Linked DNA regions of Homo sapiens: region 1 is linked to region 2. The links are contacts of gene promoters, found by promoter capture Hi-C in blood cells and fetal thymus (Javierre and others, 2016). All regions are on one chromosome and are shown on one strand. The core of a region is centred on a gene start or on the middle of the fragment in contact, and the rest is flanking DNA. Distances in the headings are between cores, read along the strand shown. Region 1 has its middle 87 kb from the start of MACF1. Region 2 holds the start of HEYL (hes related family bHLH transcription factor with YRPW motif like).

Region 1 (7,142 bases), core at 2,653-5,152, 520 kb after region 2:
ATAACTTAGAGTGTAATTAGATTGTTTGCAACACAAAGATAAATGCTTGAGGGATAGACACCCCATTCTCCATGATGTGCTTATTTCACATTGCATGCCTGTATCAAAACATCTCATGTACCTCATAAATACATACACCTATTATGTACCCACAAAAAATTTAAAAACAAATTTTTAAAAGAAGTTTGCATTGTTGGCCGGGTGTGGTGGCTCACACCTGTAATCCCAACACTTTGGGAGGCCAAGGCGGGCAGATCACGAGGTCAGGAGTTCGAGACCTGCCTGGCCAACATGGTGAAACCCTGTGTCTACTAAAATACACAAATTAGCCAAGTGTGGTGGTGCACACCTGTAATCCTAGCTACTCGGGAGGCTGAGGCAGGAGAATCTCTTGAACCCAGAATGCAGAGGTTACAGTGAGCAGAGACAGCGCCACTGCACTCCAGCCTGGCCAAGAGTGAGACTCAGTCTCACTCTTGTAGTAGGAAGACTCAGACAACAATCAAAATAATTAAAATATGTTACATGATAACAGGGAGTTCCAGGAGTCAGGTGAAGTAGAATTATAACATTCCAAAGGGGAAAGTGAATTTGAGAAACAGAGGTTAAAGGCTTATGCAGTTTTAAAATTCTATGAAATAGAAATTAGAAAATGGTATAAAGAGGCTTTATTGGCCAGGTGCGGTGGCTCACGCCTGTAATCCCAGCACTTTCGGAGGCCAAGACAGGTGGATCACCTGAGATCAGAAGTTCAAGACCAGCCTCATCAATATGGAGAAACCCCGTCTCTACTAAAAAATACAAAATTAGCCAAGCGTGGTGCCGCATGTCTGTAATCCCAGCTACTCAGGAGGCTGAGGCAGTAGAATCGCTTGAACCTGGGAGGCAGAGGTTGCGGTGAGCCGAGATCATGCCATTGCACTTCTTTAGCCTGGGCAACAAGAGCAAAACTCTGTCTCAAAAAAAAAAAAAAAAAAAAAAAAAGAGGCTTTATTATATTCTGCACATTACAATTCTCCATCTGATAGCAACACTTTAAACTATGAAATGGACAGAATATATATTTAGTATACACAAAGCATTCAGTATTTAGAATTTCTCCACTGGATGGACGGGAAAAGCATTCACTAAAATCGGGAACATAGAAGAAGAGGCAGGTCCAGGAGCAGGGAGGGGGACAACAATGCCCCTTTTGGACATATCAAGTATGCAACATCTGTGGGACAACCACGTGGAAAGAAACATTGTGAAAGGTGCTGGAAGTTGCTGAAAACACTAAGAAATAAAACAACCAGCATCATTTGCAAAGTAGCTCAATTCATGAAGTGCATCATATGCATCTCATCAGACACAATCTAGACCTTCAAAGAGATCACAATACAGCTGGGAAGTTCAAACAAATACACACAAAAAGTAACAACAACAACAACAACAACAAACTAAGAAATGTTATAATGGAGTTTTGGCTTAAGGAATTACAAGAATTACAATTATAACACTTGTTTGTTTTTCTGGTTGTTTTTTTTTTTTTTTTTTTTTGAGACGGAGTTTCGCTCTTGTTGCCCAGGCTAGAGTGCAATGGTGCGATCTCGGCTCACCGCAACCTCCGCCTCCCGGGTTCAAGCGATTCTCCTGCCTCAGCCTCCCAAGTAGCTGGGATTACAGGCATGGGCCACCACGCCAGCTAATTTTGTATTTTTAGTACAGACGGGGTTTCTCCATGTTGGTCCCGCTGGTCTAGAACTCCTGATCTCAGGTGATCTGCCCGCCTTGGCCTCCCAAAGTGCTGGGATTACAGGTGTGAGCCACCGTGGCCTATAACACTTGTTATATTTAAAGACCACAATGAAATCACCATTTAGTTTTCCAATTTCTAGAACTTTTATTTATTTAACTTTCCATATCATCACAAGCTTATTTATTGAAGATATACATCTTTATAAGTCAGAAAATAAGAAAAAGAGGAGGAGGAGGAGGAGACAAAAGGATGCTGGAGTTTCGGCTCTGCTGTCAGACAATACATATAGGCAAGGCAAAGTGAAGTAACTAACGACAGCAACAAATACTATTTTCTGCGCTTATTAGCCCCCTTAATACTGCCCCCAAACCTATTTCCTCTTACCACAGCACCTGTGCTACAGCTACACAAGATATTTTGTCTTATGCCTTCACGACCACATACTCATGCCAAGGCCTAGACCATTCCTTCCAATGCCTCACTGCTTTCCAGGTACTTCCCACAGGATAATCAGAGAAAGGAGGCCTGAGAGATGGGCACCTAATGCTCCATCTATCTTTCTCTCCCACAGGGAAAGTAAAGAAAATTTCCAGCCCTTTGGCAGTTCCTCATTCTTCCTAATAAAGGCAGTGTTACATGAATACTGTTATTACACTTATTAACAATAAGAACAAGAATGAAAACAAGGATCCAGTCCTCTGAAAGGTATGAGGACCTCAAAGTACCCCACCTACTCTGGTCCCTGTTTTCCATTTGGGAAACTAACCAACAAAGGCTGGGACAAGTCCTACATTCTTCCCCTCTAGAGGTGACTCAGGCCAGGTCAGTTAGCTTCTTTCCCTACACTGACCCATGCTCAGGCTGCAGCTAGCTTTGGCTGCTGCTCTGTCTGTGGTGCTTGTGAGCACACGAATGTTTGTAGTAGGTCTGGAATAAATTTTCTCAAGTTACAAAGATAACTGTACCAGAAGAGCCAAGCCTTCCAGGCACTCTCCCTGCTGGAAACTGGAGCCTCCCATTTCAGTGACAGGTTACCACTAGAGAGCAAAGGTCCTGTTAGGATCCTGCCCCATATGTATAGATAATATGGCAAAAAGGTCCTGCATGACTAGAAAGGATATCAGAGAGAAATTACCTGGCATCAAAGGGCCACAGGTGGCAGCTCTCTGCCATCTTAGTTGGAGCTGAAGATGATCTGGTCTCTGTTAATCCTCTTCCTCACTGACTACATGTCTTTTTAGGATATCTTCTACTGTGAATATGATAGCTAAATGAGGAGCAATAATCCATTATTTGTTCAACCGCTTACACATTCTTTATTGTCTTTTGTCATTTGTAATGTGTATTATATACTGTAAATCCCTAGAGGACAGAGGGTTTATGAACTCTCAGTGTTATATACTATATTCTACATTCAAAGAGGCTCTTAACAGAGACATTTTTGCTGATGGTGATAACAATAGTAGAGGAAGTCTGTATACACAAAGGGGCATGCCCTGAAGTCAACCATTCATGGCAACAGGTGAAGCCACAGGCAAGGGACACCCAAGTACACACACACACACACACACACACACACACACACCTCTTGCAGGTTGAGAGACAAATTGCACTGGACAAGCCAAACCAGGGAGTGAAACAAGATCAAAGATTCTCCAAATTAGTGGAGACATACTTCCACTCCCCAGTGTGACTCATGGCAAGTTTATCTGATAAGAGTCCAGCTTCACAAAACAAGGAGCGCAAAACAAGGCACACTGTGGCGAACATGGCAATAAACAAACAAAGATGCGGAATGTGCCAATGGGAAAGAACTACATCAATTCTGAGCTGGCCCTAACACATTAGGAAATATCCTCTACACTGGAATAAAAGTGAAAAAAAACCAAGCAAGTAGAGGGCAAAGGGTAACTAATACTCTTTTTAGATATAAAGGTCAGATAAACTCTGAAGGACACTATCACATCTGAAAGGTGGTGGTTATATTGAACCTGTTAAGGTAAAGCAGGTAGGGCTCTGAGTCATGAGAACAAATCTATCTCCTTCATTGCCTGCCTGCCAAAATAAACAAGAAGGAGGCTGCATTTTCCACAACAGCCTCTCTGTCCAGTCTTGTAAACACCCAGGTCTTCACAAGCCTAGTACAAATTAACTACATAACCTTCATGGAAAGCAAAGCTCAACTGCCCTGGGGAGAGTAGTAAAGCTAACCTGTTAAGACTAATGAAGAAGCTAGGCCTGGAGTTCACTCATGGAGAGTGAGTGAATCCTCCACTATCCATGTCAGATAATGAGATGGGGATTAAAGACCACAAGTGAGGAAAGCCTCTCTCTATGTCAAGAGTCAAGATGTCCTGTCCAAAAGTCAAATTATCTCAACAAAAACTTAAGAATTAATTTCTGCATAGTATTTAGCTAAATGACAGGCAGGAATGCAAAAGTTACATATATGCTTCTTCCCAGAGGAGTAGACAATTTCACTGGGGAGCCAAAATACAAGCCAGCCAGAGAACAACAGTACAAACAATCAATAATCAAACTGATGCTACATTTTAAGACAAACTACAAGGACCCCATATTCTTCCGTCAAAACTATGCTGGAAAATTCTGATCCTAGATCAATCTACCTGTCTGCCTTGGAATCTATTACAATCAGGTTGTTGAGTGCTTCTAGGGCTAGAGGGAAAACACACACACATACACACACACACGTGCACACACACACACACACATACACACTCACCCCTTCTTTCCTTCCTCCTGACTCTCAGCAAATAACTTCACCTCCTACTTCATAGAGAGAGTATGAGCATCAGGAGAAATTCCCTCAAGTTCCTACACCTCTAACCAACCAACTTAATCACCTGCATTCTTATTTTTAACCCTCTGATCTTTCTAAAAGACACAACTTTTGACTCTAGAGCCCATGCTCCATCAATTTTTCTCCCCGTCTTTGAATTGTATTATATCTTCCTTCTCTACTGGCTCTTTCAAAACAGCACTTAAAATAAACATGCTCAAGTCTCTCCTGTGTTACAATACATAAACAAAACTCTCCCCACCCTTCTTCACCTGTCTTCCTCCTCTCTCTTCCTTCAAAGTCCAAGTTCCAAAGGTCACTGACTCCTCTTCTGCACTTTCCATTCACTTCCCACAACTCCACTGAAAATGTTCCAGTAGCAGTAACCTTTATTTTGGACATCTGTAGTCTTTGCCTTATTTGACCTCTGCATAATCTACAATGTGTGTCACACTCTCCTTGAAACTCACTTCTCTCCTGTTCCTCTTACCTTTCTGGCCACTCCCTTTCTGTGGACAATTTCCTTCAGGAGATCCTCTTTCTCTGCTTCTGACACCACTCTCCTGTTGGAGTTCCCCAGAGTTTTTGTCTCAATATACATACACTCCTAAAGCCAGCTCCTTCTCCCCTCCTATGGCTGTGGTTTGATAAGCTGATGACTCTCTCACCCTCTCACCTATCACTCTCCTAAGTTTCATGTTCATTACAACCAACTACCTCCTGGACATCTCTACCTAGCATCCCTCAGAAGCCTCGACCGCAATGTAACCTAAATTAAACTCAGTATCTTCTCGTGGACCATCACTGCCACCACTTCACAGAAAATAACCTTCCTCCTCTTATATTCTCTATTTTAGTTCATGACACGACCCACCCACACAAATACTCAAGCCAGAAACCTCCAAGTCATCCTAGGTTCTTCCCTCTCCCCCTCATATACCACATACAATTAGTCATCAAAACACATGGATGTTACCCCTTCACATTTCTTGATTTGCCTGCTTTATTACATTACTATTTTCACAACCTTAGTTTCACTCCCTGCCTAAATTCCTGTGACAGCTTCCTAACTTGTCTGCCACTAGTCTTTCCTCCTCGCCCCTACCTTCCTTGGCACTGCTGCCAGAGGAAAAGTACTCCTAAAATGTAAATCTAAGCATAGTCTTCCTTGCCTACTTTTATTCAATGGCTCCCAAAAGCCTTTAGGATAAAGTCCAAGCTCTATACAATATGACATACAAAGCCAGTCAACATTTTTGTCCTGCCCACTCTCCCTATCTCATCTCATCTCTCCTTCCCTCACATCCTATGCTCCAACCTTATCAATGCCCAATATTCCCCCTCTCAAGCTTGCTCATCCCCTTACTTCTGTTCATGCTGCCCAGAATGCTCTTTCCCCAAACTTTTTGCTCAGGGTCCCACATCCTTTAGGTAACAGTTCAGGTTTCACTTACTCTTGGATGCCTTCCTGGACACTTTCTCACTCTGGCTATACTGGGTACTCCTCTTCACTACCACAGCATCAGCATTTATCTATATGATAGCCCTCCCTACAATAGACAGTAACTGTCAGTTTGCCAATATGTTTCCTCCATTTAACAGTAAGATCATAGAGAGACAAGGACAATATCTTTGTCTTCTCAGCACATCACCTACTCCCTGGTTCATGGTAGACATTCAATAAATACTTATTAATTTATTCTTCATGCGGCTTTCTCTGATTACTCTAAAATTAATATTTCCTCTGTCATCCAGGCTGGAGTGCAATGGCGTGATCATAGCTCACTGTAGCCTCAAACTCCTGGACTCGTGATCCTCCTGTCTCAGCCTCCCAAATAGCTGGGACTACTGTGTTTCCATAATGAAGTTTTATGCTCTTTTAATCTAGGGACTTTTTACACTTCTTATGTATGTGGATTACTTGGCAGGGAATTTCTCTTGAGAGAAGGGTCAAAGGGGCGAGCATATCAATGCATATGTTATTTTTAGAGTCATGGACTTTGATTTATATTTTTGAAAGTGCCGAATCCTAGCCACTAGACCACCAGGGAAGCCAACTGATTTATATTTTTGAATAATTTCTTTTCATATTATGAACACATATTAATGTGGAAAATTGTAAAAAAAAAAAAAAAACAGTAAAGTATACAGAGCTTTAGACAATATGCTTTCTGTGGTTGTTGGGTGGGGGTGTGTAGGGGCAGGGGATAGAGAGGCAAGCTGACCAACAGGTAGATGCTTGGGAAAAAATGGAGTGAGCAACGATGGGACCTTTTTTTTTTTAAGACGGAGTCTCACTCTGTCACCCAGGCTGGAGTACAGTGGCACAATCTGGGCTCTCTACAACCTCCACCTCCTGGGTTCAAGCGATTCTCTTGCTTCAGCCTCCCAAGTAGCTGGGACTACAGGCATGTACCACCATGCCTGGCTAATTTTTGTATTTTTGGTAGAGATGGGGTTTCGCCAAGTTGGCCAGGCTGGTCTCAAACTTCTGACCTCAGGTGATCCACCCACCTCGGCCTCCCAAAGTGCTGGGATTACAGGTGTGAGCCACCGTACCTGGCCAAGGATGGGATCTTTTTTGCTTGCCTGGGATCTGATATC
Region 2 (7,482 bases), core at 1,615-4,114:
ATAACAAAAAATATCAATGAGATAGTTCACACTTAAAAAAATTCTGGTGTGTATTTCATACTCACTGCACATACAGCAATTCAGACCAGCCACATTTCAAGTACTTAATAGCCATAGGGGGTTCGTGGCTATTATATTGATGGCATAGCTCTAGGCTCAGTACTGGATAATATATCACAATGTTTAAGAGCTGTATAATTGACGGGGTGTAGTGGCTTACTCCTGTAATCTTAACACTTTGGGAGGCCAAGGTGGGAAGATTGCTTGGCCCCAGGAGTTGAAGACCAGCCCGGGCAACATAGTGAGATCTCATCTCTACCAAAAAAAATTTTTTTTTTTTTTTTTTTTTTTTTGAGACGGAGTCTTACTCTGTCGCCCAGGCTGGAGTGCAGTGGCGCCATCTTGGCTCACTGCAAGCTCCGCCTCCCGGGTTCACGCCATTCTCCTGACTCAGCCTCCCGAGTAGGTGGGACTACAGGTGCCTGCCACCACGCCTGGCTAATTTTTTGTATTTTTTAGTAGAGATGGGGTTTCACCGTGTTAGGCAGGATGGTCTCGATCTCCTGACCTTGTGATCCGCCTGCCTCAGCCTCCCAAAGTGCTGAGATTACAGGCGTGAGCCACCACACCTGGCAAAATGTTGTTTTTTTAATTAGCTGAGCATGGTGGTATGCCCCTGTAGTCTGAGCTATTCAGGAGGCTGAGGTGGGAGGATCACTTGAGCCAAGGAGTTCAAGGTTTCAGTGAGCTACGATGGCACCACTACACTCTAGCCTGGTGACAGAGTGAATCCTTGTCTTTATTTTTAAAAGAAGGGGGAGTACTGTATAAAGTAATAAAGCCTAATGTTTTGGCTCTGGAACTGAACTGCCTTGTTGAATTCCAGCCCTTCCATTTATTGCCTGTTGGCCTTAGGTGGAGTTAGTCTACCTCTCAGCCTTTGTTTCTCACTTGTAAAGTGGGGATTATAATATTACTACTTTATAGGGTTGTCAAGGATTAAATGAGTTAATATTTACAAAAGACTTAGAATAGTTTCAGGTTTTATAATAAGGGCTCACCAAATGTTAAGTATTTAGCTAGGCCCCTGCTCTGTCTCCATCCACGTTTTCTGAATGATCCCATCTGCTCCCATAGCTTTAAATGCCATCAATTACCTAATGACGTCCAAATTTAATATCCAGCTGAGACCTCTGTTCTGAACTCCATACCCTCTATTTAACTGTGCACTGTATTTTGATGATCCAAGACATCTCACATGAAACGTCCATCACGGGGCCCTTGACCTTCCCCTGCAAATCTGCTCCTCTTCCAATCTTTGCTATCTCAGCCAATTACACAGGGCAGCTATCTGGGAGGCTTCCTTGACTTCCGCCTTTCCAGGGAATGCATAACACATTGTGCAACTTCTCTGTTAGTTGAGGTTTCCACTGACTGGCATGTGCCCACAGAAGTGATGTGAGTGCTGAGGGCATTTGGAATGAGAGTCCATAGTTGTGGCTGGGGCGACCACCAGGGCTTCCTGGTACTGATTGCTCACGACAGTTGCGCCTACCAGTATATATTTGTAAGTCTGTCCGTGTGTATGTGTTTGCATACCTGGCCAAATGGTTGTGTCTGTGGATGTGTGTGGACGGGGGCACAGGAACATTCTTTCCCATCAAGTAATCAAGTGTCCCCCAGCAAGCAGGCCTTGCTGTGGGGATGGAAGCACAGTTATTCTCAGATGACCAACCCGATTCTCCCACTTGAAGGGGTGGCTTCCCTCAGGTCCTGACCTGGTGGCGGGTAAAAAGGAAAAGACCTCTCATATCTAACCCAGCACACCAAGACCTCCTCTATCTCCTCTTCCCTGCCCAAGAAGTCCAGCTCCAGGATGCTCTCATGCAGCTTCCTTTGGAGCCTTAGGAGCTTCTCTGAGGTACTGGGCGCCTGAGGATGACCGGTGAATCTGAGAACTTCCCACAAGTCCCCCTAAGGACAGGGCAGCTAGAGCCCTCCCTGAGTGAACAGTTTGATGGGTTGCCAGAAGCAGAGGCCCCAGGAAGAGAGGCTGGAAGGTATCTTCCCTTTTCCTCTCCTTCTCCCACTTTGAGGCCCTGCCATAGCGTCTAGAAGGAGCCCTTTCCTGGCCTCCTGGCCGCCCAGGACAACTCGACCTCTGGTGAACTGGGAACTGATTCCCAGGGACAACCCACCACTGCCACCACGCCAGGCCTTTAGGGACCTCGGCCAGAGCCCAGCTTTCTCAGATGCGGTGGCCACAACTTCAGCCGTCCCTTTTGGGGGTGACTGCCACCTCTCAGAAGTGTAAGTGTCTTCCCCTTGCCCCCACCACACTATTCCACTTGCTTTGGGCCCCTATGGAGTTGCTGCTGGGGAATTCTTGCTGAGGATCAGGCCACAACCACCACGACTAACTTCGACAAACTTGATGTGTCTGCTGCCTCCAGAACACCAGGAGGCAGGAGCGCGCAGGGTTGACCCTTGCGGAATCCCGGGCATCGAAGCGGCGCCTCTACAGGCCAGCAGCGCCCAGGCGACCCAGGGACAGACGGGGACTCCTGGCTTCCCCGCGGGGCCTCCCAGGGCACCTGCCCAAGGCCACCCAGCGCGCGGCAGCCGAGACAGCGGAGCAGAGCCGGACCTCCCAGCCGTCGATGAAGGCGGCGACCGCCTAGGGCCTTCCCACGGCTCGGCGGCGCGTCACCGCGGGGGCGAGGGGGCGCCTGGGCGCCCGGAGCTGCGGCGCAGGAAAGGGCCCTGGGAAAGGGCGGTGGCGGCGCCCCCGAGGCGGGGCCGGGGCGGGGCCGGGGCGGGGCCTGACTTCCCGACTGGGAGCCTTAGCCGCGGGGCTGAGACCAGGCAGCCTGCGTTCGCCATGAAGCGACCCAAGGAGCCGAGCGGCTCCGACGGGGAGTCCGACGGACCCATCGACGTGGGCCAAGAGGGCCAGCTGAGGTAAGGGCCGGGATGCGGGGACCGAGCAGGCGGAGGGCGAGCGGGGTGGGGGTCGGCCCGACGGGCTCGCCGAGCAGGCGGGCCAGCCCTCCAGCACCGCCTGGGCAGAGGCAGGTGAGCGCGGGGGCCACAGGTGTCGGCGTAGGGGGCGTGTGCGGGCCGTGCCGTTACACGCACGAGTGCCTGGATCCTGCGCGCTCTCGGTCGTGCAGGGCTGGGGATGCTGGCAGGGAGGGAGAGTTCAGCTCGGGGGATCAGGTGGCTAGTGGGTTATCATCTATCTGTTGAAGTGGCCTAGGGGAGGCCATTGGCAGGTTTTCCCTGGAGATCTTAGAAAACTCTCATAGACTGATGGTACTCTGGCCCCTGTCTGGAATCTGCTGACGATGCAGAGTAACCCCATCCTTTCCCAATTTTACCCTAGTTTGGATGCAGTTTTCATGTAGTCCACAAATTATTTCAGGAAGAAGAAAATTTGTCCTCCTTTGAGCAAATTGGAGTTTGGATTTAGGGACTTAGTATTGAAGAAAATAATAAGCGACTTGCAAGGGCCTAGACTCTAATTCCAATGTTCCTCCTATCGTGCCCCCATACTGCCAGTGTCTTTCAGCTCCTGGTAGATAGTCTGACCTGCTTCAAACCTGTCGAACAAACTGCGCTTGTATAGTTCTGCTACCTCGCAGTTCTGTAAACTGTCTAAGCTTCAGTTTCCTTATCTGTTAAATGAGCATGAATAATAGAACCAACTTCATGGAAATATTGGGAAAACCAAATGAGGCAAAGTATGTCAAGGGCTTAGCACAGCACATGCCTAGGTACACACCATGTGATTCCCAGCACCCTGAAAGAGCTGCAGGGCTGACTGGGAGTCTGCAGACCTGGGTCCCAGCCCCAAATCTGCCACCAACTCACTATGTGGTCTTGGGCCATTGGTTTCCCTGACAGAGTCTGTCATCAGTTTCCCCATCAGTAAAACAAAGACAGCAGTGGAAAAGAAAGGGATATACTTCATCTCTCTTGGCTCATCTAGACTTGACTCTCTAGAACAGAATTGGAGGGGAATTCAGTTAATTCTTTCTTTCTTTCTTTTTGACATGGTCTCACTCTGTTGCCCATGCTGGAGTGCAGTGGCATGATCATAGCTCATGGCAACCTTGATCTCCTGGGCTTAAGTGATCCTCCTGCCTTGGCCTCCCAAAGTGTTGGGATTACAGACATAAGCCAGTGAGCCAGGCCCAGTTAATTCTTAGGGATGTTTTTGAGGACATTTTGTAATTTTAGTGCTCTCCAGTTTTCTGAGATCCAAGGATCCTGCCTCAGTCTCAAATCCCAGGAAAATGCCATAATAGATATTCCTCTTGCAGCCTGTACATTTGTTTTTAGGGAGTATAACACAACTCGCTATGCAACGTATTAGCCTTTCTTAATTGTTTAGCAGAAACTGCTATTTAGAAAAGCAGTTATCTTAGCCTGTGCCTGTTAAGGGCCAGGAAAGGGCACAGCACCACGTGGTGGTGGTGGAGCGGGGTCTCAAATTCAATGGCATTGGGTCTTCATAGATCAGAGGCACAAAATTGATGCCAGAGAACTAGGTTGATCAGAGCTGGCTTCTGTCCTCCACAAGTTTGCAGCCCAGTCAGTGACCTGCCAGGTCATAAAAACACCATGGACAGGATGGAAAGGAGACAGACTGTGGGCTGTGAGGGCACTTAAGCAAAGAGAGGTCACTCTTAATCAAAGATGGCAAGGAGGGCTTCTTGAAGATAGTAGCATCTGGGCAACTGCTTACATGAGGCATAAAGGATCAGTGGGCAGTTTTTTCCTATACATACAGCATTTCCTATATATACAGAGCCCATTTTTAGACACTGTTCTTAGAGGAGCAGACCCCTCTGAGGAGAGAAAGCAGCTGGACATCTGGCAGAGGCTGACTTATAGATGCCCCTTTGTAGCACTCACCAAAGGGCCCTTCCCCCAGCAGACATCAATGCTTCAATTCAGGGAGCACTGAACGATGCCTGCTGTGGCCCAGACCCTGGGCTGGGCATAGGGGGCCCAGATGTATCCTGCTCAGCCTCTGCCCTCAGGGAACTCTCAGGGAAGAAGAGCTTCATGTACAAAGAAAGCAGATAAACACTGACAAAGGCCGCAGGACGGAGGCAGCCAGCCTCTCGGGGTCAGGGGCAGGGCGCAAAACCCCCACACTCAGAAACGTGAGAGTAAAGAGCAGGGTGTGTTCCACCATCACTGTGGCATCTGCCTGGTGGCAGTCCTGCCACATCTGTGAAACTCACCCACAGAGCTCTCATCTCAACCTGGCCCCATGACGCAGGATGAGTCCAAACTGAGAGTACAGCCTCTCCTCTCCCTCTGCAAACATCTAATGAGCACCTGCCACATGTCAGACACTGGATCAGGGTCCTGTTCCTGCACAATATAAGGTGGTGGTCTTGGAGTCAGATAGACCTGAGTTTGAATTTTACCACCATTAACTTTGGCCAGTGACTTTTACCCCTTTCTGAACCTCAGTTTTCTCGCGTTCAAAATGGGAATACATTAGCACTCCTGCCTCGCAGGATAAGGTTTGATGAAGTAACATACATAAAGTTACATAGCTCCCTGCTTTGGCACAAAGTAACTTCCAATAAACGTTGCTGTCAAAGCGGTCACCATTCAGTTGGGGGGCAACATATTTATGAGACAGCATGGTCTAATGAAAAGACCGGAAGTGTGAAGACTGGACTTACTGGAGTGATTCTTAACTCCAGTGTCTCTGTCACTCCACCTGTAAAATGATTATTTTTCCTAAATGTGAAATGGCCCAAAAAATACTTCACTTACAGTGCTATTGTGCAATAAATTAGACAAATGGATGTGGAAGTGCAGTATAGAACAAAAAGCACTGGCTCTGAGATCTACATGACGGGATGATGTATATATGGGGTGCACTGGCAAAAGCCCCAGATTAAAAGCCACTAGAGGCCGGGCACGGTGGCTCACGCCTGTAATCCCAGCACTTTGGGAGGCTGAGGTGGGTGGATCACGAGGTCAAGAGATCGAGACCATCCTGGCTAATATGGTGAAACCCCATCTCTACTAAAAATACAAAAAATTAGCTGGGCATGGTGACACGTGCCTGTAGTCCCAGTTACTTGGAAGGCTGAGACAGGAGAATCACTTGAACCTGGGAGGCGGAGGTTGCAGTGAGCTGAGATTGTGCCACTGCACTCCAGCCTGGGTGACAGAGTAAGACTCTGTCTCAAAAAAGAAAAGAAAAAAAAAAAAAAGCTACTAGAGTAGACCTGGCTGTAGTTCCGATTTTCCTCTAATTTGCTGTGTGGCCTGGGGAAGATCCCTTCCCCTCTGAGTTTCCTTATTTTACAAATGGACTCAGTTCTCTCTGAGATTCCTTCATTTGGGACATTGTGATTCTGCCTTTGGCTGACACAAAATGATTAGGGTCATCTGCAAGGGTTCCACGGGGGAGTTCCCAGGGGAAGTCAGCACTGAGGGTGGTCAGGACCACCTGGAAAGCTTCCCCCCATAAGAGACCGCCCCAGAATTCTGGCTAGGAGCCACTAGAGGCCTATGGAGCAGATCTTGATGGTCAACATATCTTCTCTGGGTCCATGAAAATCTGTGTCATTTTCAGATTCTCAGACAAGAGAATCCCACACCTCATCCCACTGTCAGGGCCAGATCGCGGGCTGGAAGGGAGCTCTGGCTGGGCTCTTGGGAACTTTAAAAATAAGGGGACCGGAGGGCTATTCAGACAGACAGGAAGTAGGAATTAGAAGGGAAAAAATGCTGAAGCGGAGCCAGAAGATGCGGATTCCCTGCTGGCTTTGCTCCTTAGCAGCTGGGTAGGCTGGGCAACCTGCTTTAGCTCCCTGAAGCTCAGCAACCTCATCTGTAATATGGGCTTTTGTAAGGCTCAAAGGAGGGAAAGACATATAATGTTGCCAAGAAAACTGTAATGTGAGGTTTGCCTCTGAGATATGGGAAGAGGAGAAGGGGGGAAATAATACGACAGGGACAAGCTGACCAGGAGATTGGAAAAAGGAATGGCAGCACTGCTTTGCCCTGAAATGGGTGCGTCAGCCTCCAACAGATGGTCCCAGCGGAGGGATCAGGCTGAGAGGCAGTGACGTGTGCAAGGCTAACCTAATACCCGGAAAGACGCTTTATCAAGCTGGGGGGAACAAAGGCCGTGTTTCTTAGTGTGTCTTGGCTCTTGGGGTTTGTCCCCAGTGAACCAGTGAGGCTTTGTAAACAAGCTGCCCCATAGATCTCAAGATCTGGCCTTACAAGCCCTGGACCTAGCTTGCTGGGTCCTCCCTCCCAGGAGCTATTATAGACCTCTTACCAGGTCGGCTTGTCCAGATGTTTGGGTGGGAGATATCCTTTTCCAGATGTGTCTGGACAAAGCCAGAGACATAGCAGTAGGATTTGACAAATGCTATCTGGTCTCTTCTGCAACCTTCTCTGAGCAGTTGATGAAAATGATCCAAATTCAAATGC

What was found. The method cuts DNA at HindIII sites, captures the fragments that hold promoters and counts their contacts. A CHiCAGO score of 5 or more calls a contact.
Region 1: a contact is called between a fragment that was not itself captured here and the fragment with the promoter of HEYL in region 2, in 1 of 17 cell types (fetal thymus). The highest score is 5.9, in fetal thymus.

The regions. Positions count from the first base shown.
Region 1 is chr1:39,113,715-39,120,856 of GRCh38, reverse strand. It overlaps a transcript of MACF1 not described here. Among named protein-coding and RNA genes, the nearest start is that of MACF1, 87 kb to the left of the region's middle. The HindIII fragment of the contact is 3,974 bases long and covers 1,916-5,889 here.
Region 2 is chr1:39,635,025-39,642,506 of GRCh38, reverse strand. It overlaps HEYL (hes related family bHLH transcription factor with YRPW motif like), which reads left to right and starts at 2,864. Exons shown (of 5, transcript NM_014571.4): 1 at 2,864-2,961. The coding sequence starts at 2,882. RefSeq lists silencers at 2,508-2,897, 3,018-3,087. The HindIII fragment of the contact is 7,834 bases long and covers 1-3,664 here.